Regions from separate parts of the Homo sapiens genome. Here all the other regions are linked to region 3. Evidence: promoter capture Hi-C in 16 types of primary human blood cells and fetal thymus (Javierre and others, 2016). All regions are on one chromosome and are shown on one strand. The core of a region is centred on a gene start or on the middle of the fragment in contact, and the rest is flanking DNA. Distances in the headings are between cores, read along the strand shown.

Region 1 (3,674 bases), core at 1,129-3,628, 240 kb after region 3:
ATAGGATATTGATAGGTCTCTTAATTGCATGGTCTCGTCTCATGCACCTCTCATCTATTCTTCAAAAGGCCAACAGTGTGAAATTACTAAAATAACAATAATTATTGTTATTTCCTTACTTATAAATCTTCATTGATCTCTACTGCCTAAAGAATACAAAAAAATTCAACCAGTAAGGCAAGCCCCTTCATAATTAGGTTCTTGTCTCTCCAGGCTTCTCCCTTATCTCACTTACACTCATGGTAATTTACTAATATGCTGTGCTCTTTGTTTTTTCTTTTTGGAGAAAGGGTCTCACTTTGTCACCTAGGCTGGAGTGCAGTGGCACAATCTCAGCTCACTGCAGCCTCCACCTCCAGGGCTCAAGCAATCTCCCACCTCAGCCTCCAGAGTAGCTGGGACTACAGGTGCATGCCACTACATCCAGCTAATTTTTATATTTTTGGTAGTGGCTGGGTTTTGCCATGTTGCCTGGCTGGTCCTGAACTCCTGAGCTCAAGCCATCCACCCGCCTTGGCCTCCCAAAGTGCTAGGATTACAGGCGTGAGCCACTATGCCCGGTCCATGCTGTACTCCTTGGTCTCTGGTCCTCAAGGTGTATGTGTGTGTGCATGCATGTGGATGAACATGAGCATCCTTCTGTGTATCCATTGGCCAACACCTACTTGTTATTCACAACTCAGCCCAGCTATCACTTCTCTCAGAAGGAGCCTGTACTTAAGTGTATTATGAGAATCCACAGTGCGCTGTATTCACATTACAAAAAGCTATGATAGAAGAAATTGTTTTCATGCCCATCTTCCCACTTAAAATGAAGTTCACAAAGGCAGATGCTGCACTGTACTAGTATCACCATCTATTACAGTACTAGGCACATAAGCACTCAAAAAATATTTGCTGCATAAATTTCAGTTTCAAATATTTAACTTTAACCTTTATTTACATTCATATTCATAAGTGTGATTAGCTTAATTTCTTCTTTTTGTAATATCTTTGTCATGTTGTGGTATGAGGCCTACATTAGCCTTATAAATGAATTAGGTCTCTTTATGCTCTATGATAATTTACATGTCACAGAAATCATCCAGTCTTCAGTATTTGAAAACAGTGACCTATGAAATTATCCGTTATTGGAGTCTTTTGAAGAGCAAATTCTCTTTTTCACTTTGGTTTCTGGTTACTTACATATTTTGACTTTTTTGGGATTTCTATTGTTCAGGTTACAATCCATTTCATCAAAAAATTTTAAACATAAATTTCTGTTTATACTATATTACTTCATAATTCAAATAAATTTCCACCATCTCTATAAACTATTTCTCATTTTATATTTTCCTGCTTTTTCTTAAATGGTTTTGGCAATTATTTTAAAATACTTTTCAGGTTAAATGTTTTGTTACTCTAATTTATTAATTTCTTTATAAACTTTATTATTTCCAGTTGCATTTTACCCCATCCCATCTTAACTTAAACTACTTGTCCAATAGGAAAAACAATTTTAGTTGTTAGTCTCTGTATGACATTACTGATCTCTCCCTTCTTGAAAAGTTTTCCCTACTTTGGCTTATATATATTACATAGGTGTATATATATATATATATATATATGTATAAACATATTCTCTTCTGTTGTTCTCCAACTAATTTTGTCCACTTTTTCTAAGAGTTTTTCCCAGAATCTCCTTCCTTTGCCGGTCCCTTAAATGTTGTTACTCTTTAGGATTCAATCCTCTGCCACTTTCCCCTCCACATTCATCCACATATATGGCTTCAACTATTACATATGCTCTAATGACCATCAAATCTGTATTTTCAGCCCTGATCTCCTTCTTACACTCTGAATCTATAGCTTCTGCTTCCTCCTGGATATCCTACAGACAGCAAGCTCAACATCTCACCACACCCTACTTTAAGTTTTCCTCCTTTAGGTTAATAGCACTATGATTCACTCAGTTGCCCACATCAAAAATATGGAAGTCATGTTGATACTTCTTTCTCCTCAAGCTTGCACATGCAGCCATGAAATCCTTGGGTTCTACCTCCTTAACATTTCCTAAACCTGTTTCCTTCCCTCTAGTTCTAGTATACATTGGTTTAAGTCTCCTAACATTTTCAGTTGCATCCCCTCTAAGCCATGTTTTCCTGTAGCCCAAAGGGTTTTGTAAACCTAAAAATCTGATGAGCATAACTGTACCTATGTCAGCCTTTTTCTCTATATGGGAGTGCCTGAAGGATGTATTTATCTCTAGGACACTAACATGGGTCCTAGTCTATAGTAGCCATTTTATAACTTTCCCCCATCTATAGCCTTTAAAAAGTTCAAGACAGTCTAAAAGATGTTTTAGATATGAAGTTCCTGTTGTTTGGAATTCATACCTTTTGAGAATCTCCAGGTTTTAGTACCCATTACAGCAAAAAACAGAAATCAAAATGAAGCAGGCTAAAGGAAGACTTCACTGCAAATAATCATCATTCCCAGGGAGCAGTCCCAGGGAGCAAATTCCTCATCTTTTCTCCATAGATATTTTAGAAACTGCGAATTACAGCAATAATAGTATGATGTGATCAAACTCTTCACTTATCTAATGTTACAAATTTTTCTATTTTTCTGAGAATGTAAAAATTCTAATACAAAGTAAGTCTTGATAGAATTTATTAATATTGGAAAAATGTCTTTCTGTGGGTTACTAGCATAATTATTTGTGAAATGCCATAGGTTTTGTTTCCAGATTGAGAAAAAATAAACAAGCTTCTCTTCTGAGAAAACATAAAATTTCATTTTATATCTTGAAATCTATTAGCCAGATCACAGTAGTTCCTGAAGAGCTGAATTAACAAGGGGTTTCCTTTAACTGCTTGGTGTCCTATAAATGAAATCCTTTGTGTGTGCATTTGAGAAGTAGCTTAACTTTTCTTAACTAACAATGTTTACTTTAAAGGTTACTAAATACAATAATAGAATTTTCCTTTTCAGGGATATAGGTGATATTAAGGATCTCAGAAGCAGAGACTACCTGAAATTCACTTTTGGAAATAGACTTTGAAAGGAATTTGAGTTCTCCTGAAATTCCATGATCCAGAATCCAAAAACTTGGTAAAAAGAAACCTCTTAATCTATCACAGCTAATTAGCTTCTAACGCCGTAATTATACTTGCCTACTTTCAAGGTAGCCACTTGAAGCCTCTTTTAGTATAAAAATATTAAATTATCTCAAGTTAGAGACACTTCTCTATTAAAAAAAGGAAAATTTACTTAGTTTCATCTCGCTTCATCATATGTGATGTGTGAAGGCTAGGATGTTTAAATGTCTTAATAAGTTACTTCAAATATTTCTGTCGAGAGCATACCCAATTCTCATTTTTTCATAGTTTTGTTAAAAAATTAATTCCTTAGCAATCAGAAACCATAAATAACTTTTAATTTTAGGTTTTAAAATCTAATTTTCACTTTTTATGACTTTTTATGTTTTATTACTTACTTGTTCTAAAGTATCCTCCAAACCCATTTTTTTATTTAGGGCTTTATTAATTTCTTCTTCAGTTTCATTCAGGAGTTCCTTAAGAGGTACCTATAAAATACATAGGAATGTGGGTGACATATAACATTTAATTACAAAATATCCCTCCTGAAGCATCTACACACTGTGATAGGAGGAGTCACTTTTGGAGAAAAAC
Region 2 (3,606 bases), core at 74-2,573, 210 kb after region 3:
CAGGGTACAGCCTCCCTCCCACCTGCTTTCATGGGCTAGTGTTGAGTGTCTGCAGCTTTTCCAGGTGCATGGTGCAAGCTGTCGGTGGATCTACCATTCTGGGGTCTGGAGGATGGTGGCCCTCTTCTCACAGCTCCACTAGGCAGTTCCTCAGTAGGGACTCTGTGTGGGGGCTCCGACACCACATTTCCCTTCTGCATTGCCCTAGCAGAGGTTCTCCATGAGGGCCCCACCCCTGTAGCAAACTTCTGCCTTTGCTATGGCTATGCTATGCCTGGGTATCCAGGTGTTTCCATACATCTTCTATAATCTAGGCAGAGATTCCCAAACCTCAATTCCTGACTTCTGTGTACCTGCAGGCTCAACACCACGCAGAAGCTGCCAAGGTGTGGGACTTCCACCCTCTGAAGCCACAGCCCAAGCTGTACGTTGGCCCCTTTCAGCCATGGCTGGAGTGGCTGGGAACAGGGCACCAAGTCCCTAGACTGCACACTGCAGGTGGGCCCTGGACCCAGCCCACGAAACCACTTTTTCCTCTTGGGCCTCTGGGCCTACGATGGGGGAGGCTGCCGTGAAGTTCTCTGACATGGCCTGGAGACATTTTCCCCATGGTCTTAGGGATTAACATTAGGCTCCTTACTACTTACGCAAATTTCTGCAGCCGGCTTGCATTTTTCCCCAGAAAATGGGTTTTTCTTTTCTATTGCATAGTCAGGCTGCAAATTTTCCAAACTTTTATGCTCTGCTTCCCTTATAAAACTTAATGCCTTTAACAGAACTCAAGTCACCTCTTGAATGCTTTGCTGCTTAGAAATTTCTTCTGCCAGATATCATAAATCATCTTTCTTAAGTTCAAAGTTCCACAAATCTCTAGGGCAGGGGCAAAATGCTGCCAGTCTCTTTGCTAGAACATAACAAGAGTCACCTTCACTCCAGTTCCCAACAAGTTCCTCATCTCCACCTGAGACCACCTCAGCCTGGACCTTATTGTCCATATCGCTATCGGCATTTTTATCAAAGCTATTCAACAAGTCTCTAGGAGGTTCCAAACTTTCCCACATTTTTCTGTCTTCTTCTGAGCCCTCCAAATGGTTCCAACTTCTGTCTGTTACCCAGTTCCAAAGTTGCTTCCACATTTTGGGGTATCTTTTCAGCACTGCCCCACTCTATTGGTACCAATTTACTGTATTAGTCCATTTTCATGCTGCTGATAAAGACATATCCGAGACTGGGAAGAAAAAGAGGTTTAATTGGACTTACAGTTCCACATGGCTGGGGAGGCCTCAGGATCATGGTGGGAGGTGAAAGGCACTTCTTACATGGTGGTGGCAAGAGAAAACGAGGAAGAAGCAAAAGCAGAAACCCCTGATAAACCCATCAGATCTTGTGAGACTTATTAACTATCAGGAGAATAGCACGGGAAAGACCTGCCCCCATGATTCAATTAACCTCCCCCTGGGTCCCTTCCACAACACGTGGGAATTCTGGGAGAGAAAATTCAAGTTGAGACTTGAGTGCGGACACAGCCAAACCATATCACTGACTTCCTGAGTATCTTGCTAACTCCTATGTCCTCACAATCCTTTTTATTGATTTCAAGTTGTTTCCCTGGGAGATCTGCCTTTCTCCTGAATGGTTTGACCCCAAGTGACAACATATGAAGAAAAATCTAACAAATACCGATGAAAGCCAGCATGGTATAGTAGTTAAGAACTGAAGTCAGATTGCCTGAATTTGGATTTTGCCATTTACTAGAGAAGTTTGCCATTTGCTAGAAGAACTGGGTAGATATATTTAACCTTTCTGTTTCTCAGACTGTCAGTGATCAAGTAGATAAAAAATAAATAAATCACAGAAGAACTTAGTAATTGATAAGATAGATCTGGTTGATAACATGCCAATGTATACATCCTGAAATCTGAATATGCTTTCCTTTCCATTGCCCACGAACACTCACTAAAACTATTAGGCCATAAAGAAAAACCTCAGCAAGGTCCAAGCAGAATAGTGAAGACAGCATTCTGTGATTACAATGCAATACAACTAGGAATTCATAAAGTTTGGGGGTTGTGTGGGGTGGGAATTCCTTCTATGTGGAAATTCAAAACTATTTTAAACAGTTCTTACAGCAGAGAGAAACCACTAACTGAAACTGTAGAAAATGAATACACAGCACATAAAAAATGTGATATGCTACTAAAGTAGAAACCAGAGGAAAATTCATAGGTTTAAATACTTATTTTTTTAAAAGAATTAAGAATGTAATCAAAATTTAGGGGGAAAAACAACAAAATAAATGGAAGCAAAGCAGAAGGAGTGGGTTAGTAAAGAAAAAAGCAAACATTTAGTAAGATAGAGAACAGAAAGACAGAAGTGTTAAGTTAAAACAATTTTTTTTTTTTTTGAGACAGGGTCTCGCTCTGTCACCCAGGCCGGAGTGCAGTGGTGTGATCATGGCTCACTGCAGCCTCAAAGCCTCAATCTCCTGGGCTCGAGCGATCCTCCTACCTCATCCTCTGGAGTAGATGAGACCTCAGGCATGTACTGTCATACCTGGCTAATTTTTACTTATTTATTTTATTTAAATTTAATTAATTAATTAATTAATTTTGAGACGGAGTCTTGCTCTGTCGCCAGGCTGGAGTGCAGAGGCACGATCTCGGCTCACTGCAACCTCTGCCTCCCGGATTCAAGCGATTCTCCTGCCTCAGCCTCCCGAATAGCTGGGACTACAGGTGCACGTCACCATGCCCAGCTAATTTTTGTAATGTTAGTAGAGACGGGGTTTCACCATGTTGGCCAGGATGGTCTTGATCTCCTGACCTTGTGATCCACCTGCCTTGGCCTCCCAAAGTGCTGGGATTACAGGTGTGATAATTTTTTTTAAATTTTTTGTAGAGACAGGATATCACTATGTTGCCCAGGTTGGTCTTGAACTCCTGGGCTCAAACGATTCTCCCACCTCGGCCCCCCAAAGTGCTGGGATTACAGGTGTGAGCCACCACGCCTGGCCAAAAAAAGGCAATGTTTGGGGATGGGAAGCACAAATTCCCCAGTGGGTCATTCAGAGTGATGCTAATGGAGCCACTTTGGTTCTACTCCTCAGTTCCCATTCCCACATATCCTTCCTACTGGGGACACAGCTCCATAAAGAGTCTCTGATTTAATACACGTGTTGCAGCCTATGGAATGATTCCTTCAGAGAGTTTCCTGGAAGATGGCATTTCAGTTGCACCTTTGGATGTCTGTTCCAACATTCTAGAAGGCAAGTACATGATGTGACCAGTGGATCCCATGGTCATAGGTTCACTCCTGTATTTCCTTCACTAATCAAATGCTATGTGTATGGAATTCCATGTTTGTGGACCAGGCATTCCATGAACCCCAGGTAATGGTGAGGGTTGGGGCTCTACAGGCAGAAAAGGCAAACCCTTACTCAGAATAGTAATCCATCCTTGTGAGGATGAAGTGCTGGTCCTTCAAGAGTGGAAGAGGCCTCATGAGTCAACCTGCCACCAAATAGCCAGTTGGTTTCCTCAAAGGACAGTGCTGTATCTGGGGCTCAGTGTTGGTCCCTACTGCTGGGGAATATGGACATTTACAAGT
Region 3 (3,561 bases), core at 971-3,470:
AAAACCTTGCTTGGTTCTGATGTCGTTGACTGCTGGCCATAGACGATGAGGTCTCAATCTTACTAAGAGATTAAGGTTGGATGACAGTACCTTATCTCTCTGACAATGTATCCAACTCAAAGAGATAGCCTAGCTGGGCATTCAATTTCAGCGTTTTCCACTGTATATTAGGAAATGGGGACCTCGTCTAAGTTTCTGTTTGTTTTACTTTGTTTTTGCCGAGCAGGAATTAGCTGAACCCTGTTGGCAGCTCCTCCAGAAGCCCACGTGGGGTGGACCCAGCGACCACTTCCCATAAGACTACAGGCTCATCTACTGTTCTCTGGAATAAGGTTTCCTGGAGTACAAGTTCCAGTCTGTCCCTTGGTTTTGCCAAAGACAGATCCGCCTACTGACTATTCTCTGCTGTAATGACAACTGTGCTCTAAGACAAACAACTTATTCTTAGTGGAAAACAATTAATTTCAGCCATCACATGTGTTCCTCAACAGCCATTTATTCACACTGGCCCATCTTCCGGTATCAGACTGATACAAAACCCCCAAAGACTTGCCTGATGACAATTGAATGAGTGTCATGTATTTAACGGCATTTGTACTTTATTGCATTGCTTCCTGTTTTTTTTTTTTTTTAAGATGGGGAAATCTTTATAAGCAAAAAGATGATTAATTCTTCCCCCTGTCTTTAACGGCCATTCTCTCCCACAATCTCTAGAGAATCTCCAAATCTAAGTTGCGGGGAGGGATGCTGGGGAGCCACACTTTTAAGCAAAGTGTTCCTGAGGTTTTAGCTTAGACATCTACAAAACTGGAAGATTCCGTTTTATGGGGACATACGGACAGAACTCACTCGTTTTAGAACACTACTTAGCCAAACCTCTCAGCGAATCCTATACGGAATAGTCTTTAGCAGTATACATTTTGGAATCTTCTGTGTGCCCCAGAACACACAATATGGATCCAATTAGATTCAGCTGCCTTATGTTACAAACAAACATTGAAAGGGAGAAAACAGAAGTGGGAGTGGGAGCTTTGTTCATCCTCTCCTACGCCCCCGCGACCCCACACTCCCGAGGCGCGCGCATCCTCCCCACTCACTCGGGCAGCACCCACTCCCTAAATAGCCCAGCGTGGCCGGTGCCCCGCGAGCGCTCGGAGCGCTTTTCCGCTGCGGGCTTTTCACCGGATCTGGAAGGGATTTACCGGAGGGACTGGAGCCCAGCGCAGCAACCCCACCCCACCCCCACCGCCCCGGCCCGGGCGCGCCCCGCCCGCTCCCCGGCTCCAGGACTTACACCAGCGCCGACGGACAGGGCATCTGGTTCCAGGCACAGTTGTACTGAGCCTGAATAAAACTCTCACTTCCCTCCAGCACGGAGCAGCTCACATTCTTGTTCACGATGTAGGCGCACCAGTTCCTGGGGTGCAGGAGAGAGAGGGAGAGGGGCACGGGGTAAACCCGGAGAACAATGAGGCCAGGGGAGAGGGGACTGCGGCACCAGACCGAGCGAGGGTCGGGGGGGCCCGTCGCCCTCTGCGGAGGCGGGAGCTTCACCGAGCAGACGCCGGAGGGTGCCCGGGTGCGCCTCTGGAGAGCGCGCGCCTGGACCCGACCAAGACGGGAAAGAAAAGCACCCATGGTCCCAGGGGCTCATGGAATTCCTGGGAGTCGTTTTCGGATCGCCCGGGTCTGCGGGACGCTCTCTGCGCCCACGCCCCCGGAGTCAGCTCTGCCTGAGGCGCCGGCTGCGGAGCGCGCGGTCCCCCGCAGAGGGAGCCGCCCGGGGAAGTCCAAGGGAGGCCCCCGGCTGCCGCTCGTCGTCTTTGGCAGGGCAGCTCTGGGGCTCAACTGGGGGCCGGGGAGGGGTAGGCGGTTTGGGGCCAGCCAAGGGGCGCGCACTTACTTGTTCCTGGCGCTGGGCCGCGCGGGATACCCGGGCTGCGGGCCGGCGTGGCACAGCCCCGCGCCAACCAGGGCCAGCAGCGCCAGCGCCCAGCGCCAGGGCACGCGGGGCCAGGGCCGTCTGGGCTGCCACATCCCGCGCGCAGCGGGCGCGCCCCGCCTGCCCGGGTCCGGAGCGCGGCGGATCGGGGCACCGGCCACAAGGCTGCCGGCGGCCAGGGCGCCGCCCGCGAAGGCAAGAGGCTCGGGCGCTTCGCGGCGCTCCAACCAGTGCTCCGCGGCCGCCCCCTCCGGCTTCTCGTTCCTACTTCTCCTTCTGCAGCCCCGTGCGCCCTGCGCTTCTCCCCGGTCCCTCAATGACGCACAGGTCCCCCCGGGTGCCGCCCTCTTTATTTCACTTCCCTCTCCGAAACGTGACTCTCCCCCCACCAAGTCTCCCCGTCTCCAGTCCCTTCGCTTCTCGGCAGGGGGCTCGGGGTGGAGGGGCGAAAGGGTTTGGGATAAGGGTCTACGTTACAGCATTTCCAATGACTCATTCCTTTGGTCTCTTCCCAGATGCCGAGCGACTCCGCCTCCCACCTTCCGACAGGCTCGCTCCCGGCCCCCCGGGACGCGGCCGCCGTCGGCGAGTCTGGCCGTCCTCGCGTCGTGCCTGGGTGCCAGCCTCCCGGGGCGAATGAGGGACATGTTTATCAGTCCCGCGGGGAGAGGAGTGGGGGCTCGACTCGAATTTCCTCCTCGGGCAAGACAGGGCCGTTCCCCCACCAGCTCCATGGACCTAGAGAGTCCAGGAGGAAACGAACGCTGGTTCTTTCTTTGCCCAACTCTGCCTTAGGCACCATCTGACAGTTTCCGAGGCCACGCGGGGGGCGGCAGGACAGGACAAGCCACAGCCCCGCCAATTCCCAGAGGCTGCTGCAGCTCAGCGTCCGGCTCTATCACTTACTGCAATTCTCCTCCAATTCTTGAAAGGTGATCTCACAGCCTCTGCTTCTGAGGTCCCACTGTGAACTTTCTTTTTCTATTGAAACTAAGGCATTTACTCACGTTTGCTTCTTAACAGTTCAGGCACTGCTAGACATCCGTCTTAAACTTTCTTGTATGTTTTCTGCCTGTTGTTGAGTTACACTAATCTCTACCGATGTCTTTTTGGGATGAAGTACCAGAATGTTAAGTAAAATCACCACCCAAGTGTTGTATTCTAAGGGGTGTTGGAGAGAGCTGTGTGTTTGAGATGACCTGCTGCATCTAATCAATGTACAGGGTCGTGAGTGGCGTGGTTACCAGACTCCACAGATAAAACTGTGGCCTCTGTGAGCTAACCAGACGCTGTTGGCCATGACTCGTTAAGTGAATAAAGCTTTGCTATGGGCCAGGCGGGGTGGCTCACGCCTGTAATCCCAGCACTTTGGGAGGTCGAGGCGGGTGGATCACCTGACGTCGGGAGTTCAAGACCAGCCTGACCAACATGGAGAAACCCCGTCTCTACTAAAAGTACAAAAAAAAAAAAAAAATTTGCCGGGCACGGTGGCACATGCCTGTAATCCCAGCTACTTGGGAGGCTGAGGCAGGAGAATCGCTTGAACCAGAGAGATGGAGGTTGCAGTGAGCCGGGATCTCACCACTGCACTCCAGCCTGGGCAAAAAGAGTGAAAATCT
Region 4 (3,320 bases), core at 759-3,258, 220 kb before region 3:
GACCATCTCATAAAAACAATTTTTTCCCCTTCTTTCTCCTGCCAAAGGTAGCGGATGAGACAAGAAATTTCCTTATACAGTTGGCAGGGGCTCCTACACACCCTCTCCTTTACAAGTTTAAGGCTGGAAATTGCTTCTCATCTGACTGTGGCCAATCCACTTGTCCAAACAAGTGCTGGATGCTGCTGCTATGACACTGAACACCAGGCAGGAGCCAGATGCTGTGTTCTCACTCCCAGATATGGCAAGGAGATGAGCTTCCCAAGGGTCAAGCGGACCCCATGGAAGGTGGCTGGCCATGAGCAGTCTGCGGTTCTGCCTGCCTCAGTAAGAGGGCTACATCTGAACAAGCTGACCCGGAAGGAAACTGCCAGTGGGTGGACACCTGCTGGGGAGCTAAAGATGGGAGGGTGGCGGGGTGGGGGTGGGGGTGGGAAAGGTTCAAGCGGCGGCAGACCTCCCATGCCAAGGGCCAAGGGCTGTGCAAGCGAGAGGCCCCTAAGACTCTCCGAAAAGCCCCCACCACACCCCTCAAAAAGCCAGCAACAGAGCTCCCAGTGTCAGAGAGGTGAGGTTTCTGCAAGCAGCACCTCCCACCCCTTCCCTAATTTCCACCTGCTGGATCCCAGACTGGGGAGAAAGCAAGACGGGTGTTGAATCAGGTGGAAACAAAATTTTAAAACAGTGTATTCCAAATTCTGAAATTGTGCAAAAATGTATGAAATCAAAGTGTGCCCTAAGACCCCTGCGCCCAGCAGAGGGGTTTGCTGGGACACAGCAGCAGTGAGTTGGGGAGATGGCTTTTGTGTTCGGAGCTCCATACGCTGAGATTGCTCAACAAAACAGCTATAAGAATTATTTCAGCCATTATTATGACCAAACTAAACCAGTGACCTCAAGATTTAATAGCTTAGGTAAAAAGCTGCTATTTCTACAGGGGAAAATAGAACTGAAACTATAGATCCATCACTTTAATGGTGCCGAAGATACTTTGTAACACATAAAAATTTATGAATCTGTGACCTGGTAAATGTGAAGTAGTGGTACTTAAAGGATCAACTTGGAACACAGAAAAGACCATTCAGAGTTTACTTCAGTTTTATAAAATTAATATATAGGCTGGGGTGCAGTGGCTCACGCCTGTAATCCCAGCACTTCGGGAGGCCGAGGCGGGCGGATCACCTGAGGTCGGGAGTTTGAGACCAGCCTGGCCAGCATGGAGAAACTCCATCTCTACTAAAAATACAAAACTAGCCGGGCGTGGTGGCACATGCCTGTAATCCCAGCTACTCAGGAGGCTGAGGCAGGAGAATTGCTTGAACCCAGGAGGCGGAGGTTGTGGCGAGCCGAGATCTCACCATTGCACTCCAGCCTGGGCAACAAGAGCGAAACTCCATCACAAAAAAATTAAAAAAATAAAAAAATTAATATATATATATATATATAATAGTCAAGTGACACATTTTAAAACCTAGATCTTCCTAAATTCTTGAAGTTCAACTTTAAAACATTATTTTTCCATTTAAAAATCTGACTATTGAAGAACATTAAGTTTAAGGCTGCTTTTTATAGCATAACTTAATTCCCTTTAATTTGTTAAGCTTTATTTATAAATTAATATATTTTCTCTCCACTTTAAGGACTACTATTGTCTGACTTAAACAAAACTGTCTCAAGAACTTAAATAACTTTATCTACTAAACTAAGTATATAAATACAGAAAATTTGGAGTTTTCATAAATATTCTCATATTGTATATAAACCTAGTAAGATGAACATAAAATCACAGTCAATTAAACATTTTACATTGGAATCACAAAGCTGGAGGCTGGGTGCAGTGGCTTACACCTGTAATCCCAGCACTTTGGGAAGCCCAGGCAGGAGGATCACTCGAGCCCAGGAGTTTGAGACTAGCCTGGAGAACATGGTGAAAGCCCATCTCTACAAAAAATCCAAAATTAGCTGGGGGTGGTGGCACGAGCCTGTAGTTCCAGCTACTCGGGAGGCTGAAGCAGGAGGATCGCTTGAGCCTGGGAGGTCAAGGCTGCAGTGAGCTGTGATTGCACCACTGCACTCCAGCCTGGAAGACAGAGTGATACTCTGTCAAAAAAAAAAAAAAAAAATTGGACTTAGTCACTAGGCTAAGACATTTCAAGTACATGAAAATCAAATATGCACAGCCTACATAATGCAGAAATACTAATTTTTGCCTAGATATAGCCTCTAAGATCTGGGACTGGAGTTTTAATACACATGCCAGAATGAGAGATGTAGACCTGGATTGTTCAAGGTAGTGAGTTGGTACCCAAGATGCCTGCACAAATCTGAGATGCACAAAGAGTGGCTTAGTCAAAACAAAAATGGGAATAGTAAAAATATCACCAACTGACATAGAGAAGCTATACAGAAGCTTTCCATCTGCCTGGGGGCGGTTCTGGATGGAAGAAAATTTAATGGATTCCTCAAACTAGTACTGCATGTTTGTGGGGTGCAAATTTACAGCACCACATGGTAACAATCTCAAGCCAAGAATTCCCATAAAAATGGTCGAGGTCCGGGGCCTCAGGGAAGCAAATGCAAAACTACGCTAGACGGGATTCTCTGTCTGCCCACAAAGGATTACTGTTATGGAAATTGTCCTCCCACCATGAACAACTAGAAAAACAGGCAAAATATCAAAACATATGGAAAAATAACCGTTTAGGGCATTGGCCAGCAGATGTGCAGGCCCAAGATGCCTGAGAGAAGGGGAAAGTGATGAGACACCTGTGATTGCTCCAGCTTCTTCTTGCCTAGACAGAGTGCTCAGGCTGCAGCCCAGCAGGGGGAGCCTGTCAGTCTCATTGAATTGAGGGGACAGAGACTGAGGTTCAATGAGGCGGGGTCGTCTAAAATGTATGAGAAAGAATAAGAGAGAGAGGAGAGTTGCACGAAGACAGGGTGCTGGAGGCTGCACATGCTCTTTGGCTGAGTACTATTCAGCAAATGCACGGGAGAAAGAAATCTGGAAAGCCTCAGGCCAAGCAATTCTTGGAGCTCACGCGGGCTGGAAACAGAGTCCGTGTCCACCAGCCGGAATGAAAAGACTTTGTAATACGTGGGCCTCGGGTAGAGTCCTCAGAAGTTTCTCCTCCATAGTGGGGCACTACTAAGGTGAGAAATTAATCCTGGATTAAAAACTCCTCTGGCCCCACCCTAACAGAGCTTAAAAGCAAGCCTCAAGAGGATCAAATATCTACAACAAATCGAGTGTCAGAACAAGGTGCAGCGCATTTTAAATGAACACACTGGCACGGTCTCAGGTGTTCATTAGTTCTGTT
Region 5 (3,680 bases), core at 444-2,943, 170 kb before region 3:
ATTTCCAAACAAATAGGTTTTTCTAGTTACTTCTTAAAAAAATTGATTCTTGTCTTTTTTTTTTTTTTTTTTTTAAGACGGAGTCTCGCTCTGTTGCCCAGGCTGAAGTGCAGTGGCGCAATCTCGGCTCACTGCAAGCTCTGCCTCCTGGGTTCACACCATTCTTCTGCCTCAGCCTCCCAAGTAGCGGGACTACAGGCGCCTGCCACCATGCCCGGCTAATTTTTTTTTTTTTTGGTATTTTTAGTAGAGACGAGATTTCACCGTGTTAGCCAGGATAGTCTCGATCTCCTGACCTCGTGATCTGCCCGCCTCGGCCTCCCAAAGTGCTGGGATTACAGGCGTGAGCCACTGGGCCCGGCCGATTCTTGTCTTAATTGCATTGTGTTCAGAGGATATAGTCTGTATGATAAACATTTTCCTTTCTTTCTTTTCTCTCTCTCTTTCATTCTTCTTGAGACAGGGTCGTGCTCTATTGCCCAGGCTGGAGTGCAGTGGTACAATCTGGGCTCACTGCGACCTTGACCTCTTAGGCTCAATCAATCCTCCCACCTCATCTTCCCGAGTAGCTGGGACTACAGGCACACGCTACCACAGCCAGCTAATTTATTACATTTTTAGTAGAGATGAGGTCTCTCTATGTTGCTCAGGCTGGTCTCAAACTCCTGAGCTCAAGCAATCCTCCCAAGCTCAAGCTATCTTCCTGATTTGGTTTCCTGAAGTGCTGGGATTACAGTTGTGAGCCACTGCGTCTGGCCAATGCATTCAAAATTTTCAGATTTGTTAAGACTTGCTTTATTTATTTTATTTATTTATTTATTTAGTTTTTGAGATGAAGTCTAGCTCTGTTGCTCAGGCTGGAGTGCAGTGGCCCCATCTTGGCTCACTGCCTCTGTGTCTTGGGTTCAAGTGATTCTCCTACCTCAGCCTCCTGAGTAGCTGGGACTACAGTTGTGCGCCACCACACCTGGCTAATTTTTGTGTTTTTAGTAGAGACGGGTTTCACCATGTTGGCCAGGCTAGCCTCGAACTCCTGACCTCAAGTGATCGGCCTGTCTCGGCCTCCCAAAGTGCTGGGATTACAGGTGTGAGCCACTGCACCCGGCCTATATGTGTTTTATATGTTCATATGTTACCAGCTTTAGTGAGGTTTCTGGGTCGGCTTGAGAAGTAATTTTTTTTCTTATTCTACTATTTTGCTTTTGCAATTCTGTATTTATTGGGTCTTCTATTAATCTCCCTACTTAAAGTACATGCTAACCTTTACTTCTGCTGCACAAAACTCCCAAGGCTTCAAAAATCAACGTTCAAACTCACTAGATTCAGCAAAAATCCTCCAGGCATATGCTGACTTTGGGCTCGGCTTACCTCTCTGGGTTCTGACCTTCACCCTGTCCTGGGGCAATTTCTTAATTTCTTGCCAGTTTATAGATGCCTTCCAGAATATATTTTTATTATTTTGCCCAGTATTTTTGTTTTTGTTTTCAGTGAGGGAAAGTTGGTCTAGACACCCAGCTGAGCCTATCAGATGAAATAGAAATCTTCACTTATTTTTCATCACGTATTTACTCAGCACCTACTATGTGTATAATAAGTACTATAATTGTGATCTGTGCAAGGTGGACTAGAGGCATAAGAAAAAATACATCGACTGGGGTAGGGCAGTAGGGCAATTGAGGGAAGGTGGTGGGAGGTAGTTAAAAATACAGGTTTATGCTGGGCCTGGTGGCTCATGCCTGTAATCCCAGCACTTTGGGAGGCTGAGGTGGGCGGATCATTTGAGGCCAGTATTTCGAGACCAGCCTGGGCAACATGGCAAAACCCCATCTCTACTAAAAATAAATTAAAAAAAATAGTTTTGGTTCATTCATTTGATGGCTAAATAATAACTTTTTTAGAAAGAGAAGAAAAAAATATGGGTTTAGGAGTCAAGGAGGGCTGGAGGCAAATTCTATCAACACTGCTGACGAGTTGTGAGATCTGAGGCAAGTTACCCAACATCTCTGTGCCGTAGTTCCTTCCTCTGTAAACTGGTGTTAATGATAGAAGTTGAATTACTAGAAGAGCTGGGCACACAGTGATGGTACAGAAAATGCTAGCTATTCTCTGTCCTCACAGAGAAAGAGATGCAGAAGCTGGGAATAACAAAGCTATTTTTCTAAGGTTGAATCACCTCCCCTGGGAGCTGCCAGACAGGAGGGCATAGGACCACCTCCTTCCAACTCCAGGTCGGGGATACTTGATTCTTATTCTAGAGAAAATCCTTCTCTGCTTTCCAGATTCCCTCAAAGATATGCCTTCTCCCTGGCCCTCTCCCCCTTGACTGAGACAGGTTCCTCACTGAGCATAGTGTTTTGGAAATAAAAGACAGGAAGGAAATGTCTTGCAGACAACTTCTGCTTTCCACTCTGCCAACAACCTCCTGAGACAAGCAGAATGCCTGGGTGCATTCTTATAAGGAGAAGAAGAAAGAGAGAACTCTAAGGAAAAACACAGAAGTTAATATATGAAAAATTATTCTTACCAGCTACTGTGGCTCAAGCCTGTAATTCCAGTACTTTGGGTGGCTAAGGTGGGAGGCTCGATTGAGCCCAGGAGTTTGAGGTTGCAGTGAACCGTGATCACACCACTTCACTTTGGCCTGAACAACAGAGTGAGACCCTGTCTCCAAAAAAAAAAAAAAAATCCTGTTGCAAAAGGGATGATGGAATGGCTGAAGCATACAGACTAGAAGGAGCAGGAGAGAAAATTAGAGAGAAAAGGAGCACACTGGATGCCACGCTAGGGAACTTGGCTTGCTTCGTCAAGACAATGGGTTGCCAACCACCTGTGCCATGGCCAGGTCTGCAATTCAGAGTAGAGGATGCTTAGAATTGGGCAGGACTAGAGGGTAGGGAGACCAGCTGGCATATTCCTACAATGGACCACAAGAGAAATGGCGAGGGCCTAATCACAAGCAGGGGTGAGTGGTGCGACAGAGGACCAAGAGTAGGAATCATGAGGAGGAATAATGAGGAGGAGTGATGGAAACAGCATGGGAGTAGAGGGAAATGAGACTCCCTCCTAGGTTTCTGGCAAGTATGTCTAAACAGATGACAGCGCCATCAGCCAGGATAGGAGATTCAGGTGGAGCAGGTTTGAAGAAGCACAAATAATGGGTTTGAATCTGACATCACTGTGGACCTTGCTGGTTGAGACGTTGAAAGCCACTGAGCACAGGCATGTAGAATTCAGAGGAGTTCCCACTAATGAGGGGAGGAGAGAGTTTCAAGAAGGAAATAATGATCAACAGCATCTTGCCCTGCAGAGATCATGAGGCATGGGACAGGAAAGGGGTCTGTTTTCTTCGGCAACCAGAAGGTCATAGTGACTTTAGCCTGAGCAGTTTCAGGGTTAGAGGAGGAGCAACCCTGTGAAGATGGGAGAAAACCTGAAACTCTTTCAGGTAGCTTGGGTGGGAAGAGAAGCTGTGTGATAAGTCGACAGCCTGAGGGGGAACGGAGGGGCCACAAAAGCTTCTTTTTCAAGTGCAGGAATGAAGCCAGAATTGAGGAAGAGGGGACAATTAGTGGAGTGAGGTTCCTCACCTTGGAGCTGGAAGGTGGTGGGTCAGAGGCCAGTTGAAGGAAGCGCTTTCTTCCTCTGACACTCCAGTGGAGTAGGTGGACCTGGGGTGGCCC
Region 6 (3,542 bases), core at 186-2,685, 250 kb before region 3:
CACACATCAGTAGCTACAGATGTGCTTTCTAGAAGTGATGCCTTTTCCTTTGCGGTTGTTCTCCAGAGATACCAAGGATACTAACATAGAAAATATATCCCATGCTCCATTACATGGCGAAGTGTCAGGCTACACAGGTGTAACATCTGAGTAATTAAGTTCTTCACTTTTTGCCCACATATGTTGGAATCACATATATATTTTCTGGATATATTCACTTATATGTCTTTATGCAAACTAATCTTTTCCTAAGTAAGATTGGCACTTAAAAGCAGAATCATACCTCTAAATAAAGACAATATAAAGACAGTGCCTACCATTTTCAACTCCTGGAAAATTGGGCAAACATGCCTTCGTCAGAAAAAGAATCCCTCTGAACAATGTACAACCCTTCAATAAAGCACCTTCTACATAAAAGATTAAATTCCACACTTGACACTAAGAGAAGAGAAGGAAGTCAGAAATGACCCTTGGAAGGTTCCACTGGCCAGATGGGGGGATCTCTTGCCATTAGTACCCACTGGCCAAGGTAGTGAAGCATCCAGAAAGTTGCACCCTGGAGTTTGAGAAAACAAGTAGAAAGTGATAGTATACACCCATTCTTTTTAAATCAGAAATTTTAATACTTAAAATATAAATCCTCCACTAATAAAGGAGTTTCAGGAACCCAGAAAACTATATTCCTATTCCAGACTATGGACAAACAGCCTTTGTATATTGATATATGTGCATTTTTCTAGGAAGAGTATCCTTCACTTTTAGTAAATTCCCCAATGGAGACTGTAATTTAAAAACACACACCACTGCTCTAGAATGAATTGCGGACCTTCTCTTACATCTGCAAGGAGTGACTTGTTTGATAGTGAGGCTGAGTGCTGGTGATATTGGCCTCAGCTGTAATGTTCTCAAAACCAACTTTGGCTGGGCACAGCGGTTCACACCTGTACTCCCAGCACTTTGGGAGGCCGGAGCGAGAGGATCACTTGAGGCCAGGAGTTCAAGGCTGCAGTGAGCCATGATCACGCTACTGCACTCCACCCTGGGCAACAGAGCGAGTCCGTATCTCTAAAAACAAAAACTAACCCAACTTTGTTCAGCAAAGTAGCAGAGTGGAGGGCCCATGAGACACGACTGTAGGGCGCAGACTTCTAAATTCTAGGGAAGAACCCTCTATGCCACCATGTGGCATTAGGCAAGCCATTTCTCATCTGTATGCTTATTCACCATAAAACTGGAAAAGTAATATCATGAGTGAGGTTTCAAATGTTAATTTTGAAAAAGTTTATGGAAAGTACTAAAGTGTATTGCAAAGTGTTTGGACTGGACTCTCTTTGTTCTGGACTTTTGACTCAAGCTGTGCGCCTGGGCAGCTCACTTTTATTTCTCTGTGCCTTGGTTTCTTTTCCAGGAATGGCTATCACAGTGGTTTATAGCACCTCCCATATAGAAATGCTGTAAGAGGGTGGGGTGTGGTGGCTCACACCTGTAATCCCAGCACCTTGGGAGGCCAAGGTGGGTGGATCATGAGGTCAGGAGTTCAAGACCAGCCTGACCAACATAGTGAAACCCCATCTCTACTAAAAATACAAAAAATTAGCTGGGTGTGGTGGTGGGCGCCTGTAATCCCAGCTACTCAGGAGGCTGAAGCAGGATAATTGCTTGAACCCGGGAGGCGAAGGTTGCAGTGAGCCGAGATCGTGCCACTGCACTCCAGCCTGGGTGACAGAGCAAGACTCCATCTCAAAAAATAAAAATAAATAAAAATAAAATAAAATAAATGCTGTAAGAGATAATAAATATGGTATTGATGAATCCATGAACTATTCAGGAAAAATATGAACATTAATTGAAACAGACCAGTGATCCCTGAACCTGCTGCCCAACGCAGAAGTCTCCAAGCTACATAAGATGGTTGTACTTTCTACTCTCGAACATTGACAGAAATGGGGAGAAACAGCAGCACCTACTAATCTAGTCAGATAATAAACATTGATTAAGTGTCTAGACAACAACTAGTCCAAACAACATTTACATTCAGCTTAAAGGTTGGAGATGAGAGAAGATGGGGTGTCACTTTTGAGCTCAAGATGCCCAGGCCTCCCTGGAGTTTAGTGTTCATATGGACTTGGAGAGAGAATTAGTCCGGGCAGTAGGCATTGCCTGATGTCATTATCATTTATGCTGAGATATTTTATCTTGCATAAGCCCAAGAACTCTGATTATTGGTGCTACGAGAGAGGGTAGCAGCAAACTCAGTTATCCTTTTATTAGAGACCCAGTGTCGCATTTTGGTAGAGAGACCCTGAGAATGTGATTAAAACTCTGACATTCGGCTGGGCAAGGTGGCTCATGCCTGTAATCCCAGCACTTAGGAAAGCCAAGGCGGGAGGATCACTTGAGCCCAGGAGTTCAAGACCAGCCTGGTCAACATGGTGAAACCCTATCTCTACAAAAATACAAAAATTAGCCAGGTGTGGCCGCAGCTCCTCGAGAGACTGAGGCGGGAGGATCACTTGAGCCCAGCAGTTGGAGGCTGCAGTGAGCCGTGATCATGCCACTGCACTTCAGCCTGGGTGACAGAGTGAGAATCTGTCACAAAAAAATGAGTATAAAAATCACAAAATAACAAACTCTGACATGCAAGTATCAGAGCCCCCAACCCAAGGGTGTTTTGGTTAACCCAAGGAAGCAACATTTTTCAATACTAAAACTCCAGCTCTTTTCTTTCCCCTACCACTATCAGACCAATGAGGTCACAAGGTGAATATCTTCAGAGGTCTGGTGGTAGGATCAAAGTAGCACATGCAATTTCTTGATTCATACCCACTTCCTGTTGGTAAATGCTGGCATGTTGATGAAGTCGTTTTCTTGAGATTTTGTAAAGTTTTAAACTGTCTTATTTCTTAGAGAATGTAATAAAGAGTATAGTATTCCTTTATCCTTTGGCACAGTAAATTCTCCTATTTTAAGCTGTTTTCAAAATTATTTTGAAAACCACTAAACACGTGCCTTAAACCTACAAATAACATATTTCGCTGAGGCACATTAACTGCCAGAGAAAAGAGCCTAAGGAAATTTGGAGCTGAGTAAATAGAAAAAATAGAAATGCACAAAGCTAAAAATAGAAATCGACTTAGTCTATCTTGCCAGTATTGATACTAAATTGCAGTGTGGAAAGATAGCTTATTTGAATATATATCCATACACCAAGAATTCAAGGTATTTTGAGGGGGTGGGTGGAGGGTACACTTTGGTATTATCAGCATGCTGCATAATAGCCCTTCATTTGCAGACACCGGTTTTTACCCCTCTTGTATACATGCACTATATGTGGGGAGGCAAGCACAAGCACGTATACATAAATACAGATATGTTGGTGTGTCCTCTTAGGTGTCAACATATTATATTCTAAAATTAGTGGTTGTAAAATTTAACCAGGTGTGGTGGCTCTCGCCTGTAATCCCAGCTACTCTGGAGGCTAAGGTACAAGAATCTCTTGAACCTGGGAGGTGGAGGTTGCAGTGAGCCGAGATCATGCCATT
Region 7 (3,551 bases), core at 302-2,801, 180 kb after region 3:
TGCTTATCTATGTTTTCTAATTTCCTGCAAATACACATATAATGAGAAAAAAATAATTTTAATACAAAAGTTTACGATGAACATGTAAGTAGTATTAGACACTTTGGCAAGTCCTGAAAGAGAGGATTCAGTAAACTAATTGATTTGTAAAGATCACTAGCAAATGGTCCAGAGAAAGGACAGAAACTAGCAAGTAGTAAAGGTAGAAAGAAATGATAAAGACATGGAAATATGAACACAAACTTCTTACTTACGCAACCTAGCTATATGTATTTGCAAAGTAAAACAAGTATTTTCTTAATTGGGAAAGGTCTATGGGAGGCTAGGAAATCAGGAGAAGAGAGTATACAGGCGATGGAAAGCTGTATAGGTCAAGACCCCTTATGAGTTGAAAAGAAAAGTTCTACTAGTAGGTTAGCTTTAAAGGAGAGTTTTTTTTCACTGAAGATGACACAGGTAGAAGACATAATAATACCGTGATGAATTTGAGTAAGAAAGAAAATGAGTGGTCTTCTAATAAAGTGTAATAAGAAGATTTACAAAAAGTGAAGGAATGGGATACGTAATCAGGGGATAAAGGCAGGTAATAATTTATCAAAATTAGTATGAATGGGATACTTACGCAAAGGATTTTGTCCTTCACTGGCATAATATTCATACATGCCACTTTTAACCAGTGTGTCATAGTGAGGTAAGAAGTCAATTCGTTCTTTCGTAGCTGTCAGTAGTAACTGATTGACCGACTGTAGCAGGTATAAGGTGACTCCATCTTTAACAGTTTCATCTGTAATCAAGAGTGAAAATCATAAGTGCTAGGTCAGCATCAGAAACTCAATGAACTTATAATTGTGAATATACAAATTCTATCTATGAAATATCTTTAATGATGGTAAAGAAAAACCCCCAATCATCTACCTGTAAGCAAAGTCATGTTAAGGATATTAATGAAACAAGCACAAATACTTCCTTCCATTCATTTGAAACACTCAATTCTTAATAAGTTAAACTATCACAGGAAATCAGACGAGAATCTAAAATAGCGTAGTGTCAACATGAATGGAGAATGGTTAAATTCAGATGGAATCAGGCATGAAAAACCAGCAGGTCTTGGAAAACTAATTAGGTTAAAAAAAGATAATGGAATAATCCAAGTTGGTTAGCAAAATTAGCTTCAGAAGATTTGTGCTAGGCAGAATCATCTTCTGTAGCCATAACTGATATCAACTATTTTTCTATAATCAAGCTTGAAAAATATAACCTCTGTGCAGACTATGCACATGCAGCCAGTTTCCTCCCTCATCCCAACAAATTAACAAAAGTCATCAACAGATTTAGATGCATATCTAATAAAAGTTATTGCTATATATGTACTAAACCTTATTAAATATAAAAGCATCAACTTAGTAACACTGTTTACCTACCAAAATTATCACAGGTAATTTCTTTCCTACTTGTTGTTGTAATAACAAATTTTTCTTCAGGTGAAATGCCAAGTGTCTATCCAAAATAAGAAATAAAATCACTTATTACACAAAGGAAATAAATGTATTATTCAAATTTATAAAAATATGAAAATATTGATAGTACATTATAATTCTGTAACCACTACACTTATCTAGGAAATACAAAACTCAGTATATCTAAATTTTGCCTTTGCATAATTAATAGTGCATAAATCTATATAAATTACTTACTTAACAAGGTCATTTTTTCTGCTACTATAAGCAACCTAGGAACACTAGTGATTAGGTGGAACGTTTTAAAAGCATTTTAACATCATCAGCAGGACCCACCCAGACAAAAGACATAGTATTTCATACTAACGTACAAGTTATCAACTTATTTGGAACAAAGCTTTAACATAACTCATGTTCATATAGACTAGATATTTAAGTATGCAAAAACAAAATAGAAGAAAACAGAAGTTAGCATTTTATAGCACGGAGGGAAGAACAGCCATGCTTTGTAAGACATACAGGTCCATTCAAACGAATAACTTTAAAAATTAAAGCAAATTATAAATTAGAGGGAAACTGGCCAGGCATGGTAGCTCATGCCTGTCATCCCAGCACTTTGGGAGGCTGAGGCCGTCGGATCACAAGGTCAGGAGTTCAAGACCAGCCCGACCAACATGGTGAAACCCTGTCTCTACTAAAAATACAAAAATTAGCCAGGTGTGGTGGCGCACACCTGTAATCCCAGCTACTCAGGAGGCCAAGGCAGGAGAATCACTTGAACTGGGGAGGCGGAGGTTGCAGTGAGCCAAGATCACACCACTGCACTCCAGCCTGAGCAACAGAATGAGACTCCGTCTCAAAGAAAAAAAAAAATTAGAGGGAAATTGCAACAAGAAACAAAAGGGTGACAAGGATCAACAAAGAGAAAAAGTAAAAACACAAAAAAATGAAAAGGAGAAAATACAAATGACCAATGAACACATGAACTGTAAAATCACATTAATCAAAAAATGAGAATTAGAAAAGTGGTTAACATTTTCATTTACATTAGAATTAAAACATACATGCTCTGTCTAAAATGAAACAATACAGCAATATATAGTTAAGAGAAAAGGCTTCTGTTTCGGGTAGTAATGGACTAGTCTAAAGATTAACATTCTTATTGAAAACATCTAAAAAATCTAGACTAGTGATACTCAAATCTTCAAAAATGATATTAATAAAAACCATTATTGCTCACCACTGGGATGAGCTAGGGCACCAACTTGTCACTCTGAACACTGACAAATTAAAGGGAAAGAACAAATTATTTACACTGCTTTTCTTGTATCAATGGTACTTCAGGATAACCAAAATAGCTCTGGCTGATGAGGCAAAGTTGTTCCTTAAAGAATTCCAGCTAATAAACACAGGAGGAATGGCAAGTCAGATCAAAACTTCCTTATGGAGGAATCCTGCTGAAATCACGTGAATCCCAAGATTTTAATGTTAGCATTGCTATGAGTGGGTGAAACACCCACACATCACGTGCCTCCCAGTGTAATGCCATATGAAGTATCAGTACTACCTACAAAGCATTCTTTGCCTCCTGACCCCAAAGAAGTTGAACCTAAATCAAATCAAGCCTTTAAAGCTAACTTTTAGTTTACAGAATACATACGGAGATAAAACAAATTAAGTAACACCAAAAAAGAGCACAAACAAATCCATAATGTGGAATATTAAAGACCTAGTTGATTTCTTCAAGAGGTCAACTGCAGGAAAACTAAAGAGACTGGTGGAGGAGGAATTTGCTCAAATGCTTTAAATTGAAAATAATTAGGAAACAAAAAAAAAACAAATTTAATGTGAGGACTATGTCAGATCCTGATTTAAACAAACCAACTATAAAAAGATACTTTTAAACATTCAGAGAACTCAATATGGACAGGGACATTAGACAATATTAAAAATGCTTTATTTTAATGGTTTGATAATACATATTCAGGCTGAAGTATATGGGGTGAAATGACCTAAGACCTAGAATATGCCTTAAATACATTACAAAAACAAAAATGATCCTAGTGTGGTAAATTCCTATTAACTTGAATCTGG

What was found. Contacts are between HindIII fragments. The CHiCAGO score rates a contact against its expected background, and 5 or more counts as called.
Region 1: a fragment that was not itself captured here is called in contact with the fragment with the promoter of EMILIN2 in region 3 in 1 of 17 cell types (monocytes); the score reaches 6.7 in monocytes.
Region 2: a contact is called between a fragment that was not itself captured here and the fragment with the promoter of EMILIN2 in region 3, in 1 of 17 cell types (monocytes). The highest score is 8.1, in monocytes.
Region 4: a fragment that was not itself captured here is called in contact with the fragment with the promoter of EMILIN2 in region 3 in 1 of 17 cell types (monocytes); the score reaches 5.0 in monocytes.
Region 5: a contact is called between a fragment that was not itself captured here and the fragment with the promoter of EMILIN2 in region 3, in 1 of 17 cell types (monocytes). The highest score is 5.9, in monocytes.
Region 6: a fragment that was not itself captured here is called in contact with the fragment with the promoter of EMILIN2 in region 3 in 1 of 17 cell types (activated CD4 T cells); the score reaches 5.7 in activated CD4 T cells.
Region 7: a fragment that was not itself captured here is called in contact with the fragment with the promoter of EMILIN2 in region 3 in 3 of 17 cell types (monocytes, M1 macrophages and M2 macrophages); the score reaches 12.3 in monocytes.

Annotation. Positions count from the first base shown.
Region 1 is chr18:2,601,290-2,604,963 of GRCh38, reverse strand. NDC80 (NDC80 kinetochore complex component) reads right to left here. Exons shown (of 17, transcript NM_006101.3): 13 at 3,479-3,568. Among named protein-coding and RNA genes, the nearest start is that of NDC80, 32 kb to the right of the region's middle. The HindIII fragment of the contact is 745 bases long and covers 2,006-2,750 here.
Region 2 is chr18:2,629,953-2,633,558 of GRCh38, reverse strand. No RefSeq gene overlaps it. Among named protein-coding and RNA genes, the nearest start is that of SMCHD1, 24 kb to the left of the region's middle. The HindIII fragment of the contact is 9,719 bases long and covers 1-3,606 here.
Region 3 is chr18:2,845,665-2,849,225 of GRCh38, reverse strand. It overlaps EMILIN2 (elastin microfibril interfacer 2), which reads right to left and starts at 2,220. Exons shown (of 8, transcript NM_032048.3): 1 at 1,904-2,220; 2 at 1,295-1,417. The coding sequence starts at 2,037. RefSeq lists silencers at 1,243-1,332, 1,953-2,002. The HindIII fragment of the contact is 11,570 bases long and covers 1-3,264 here.
Region 4 is chr18:3,062,661-3,065,980 of GRCh38, reverse strand. No RefSeq gene overlaps it. Among named protein-coding and RNA genes, the nearest start is that of LPIN2, 51 kb to the right of the region's middle. The HindIII fragment of the contact is 809 bases long and covers 1,604-2,412 here.
Region 5 is chr18:3,015,469-3,019,148 of GRCh38, reverse strand. No RefSeq gene overlaps it. Among named protein-coding and RNA genes, the nearest start is that of LPIN2, 4.2 kb to the right of the region's middle. The HindIII fragment of the contact is 3,648 bases long and covers 1-3,517 here.
Region 6 is chr18:3,096,496-3,100,037 of GRCh38, reverse strand. The region is part of intron 25 of MYOM1 (myomesin 1); the gene reads left to right. Among named protein-coding and RNA genes, the nearest start is that of LPIN2, 85 kb to the right of the region's middle. The HindIII fragment of the contact is 5,489 bases long and covers 1-3,542 here.
Region 7 is chr18:2,664,103-2,667,653 of GRCh38, reverse strand. It overlaps SMCHD1 (structural maintenance of chromosomes flexible hinge domain containing 1), which reads right to left. Exons shown (of 48, transcript NM_015295.3): 2 at 1,422-1,497; 3 at 623-784. Among named protein-coding and RNA genes, the nearest start is that of SMCHD1, 10 kb to the right of the region's middle. The HindIII fragment of the contact is 611 bases long and covers 1,246-1,856 here.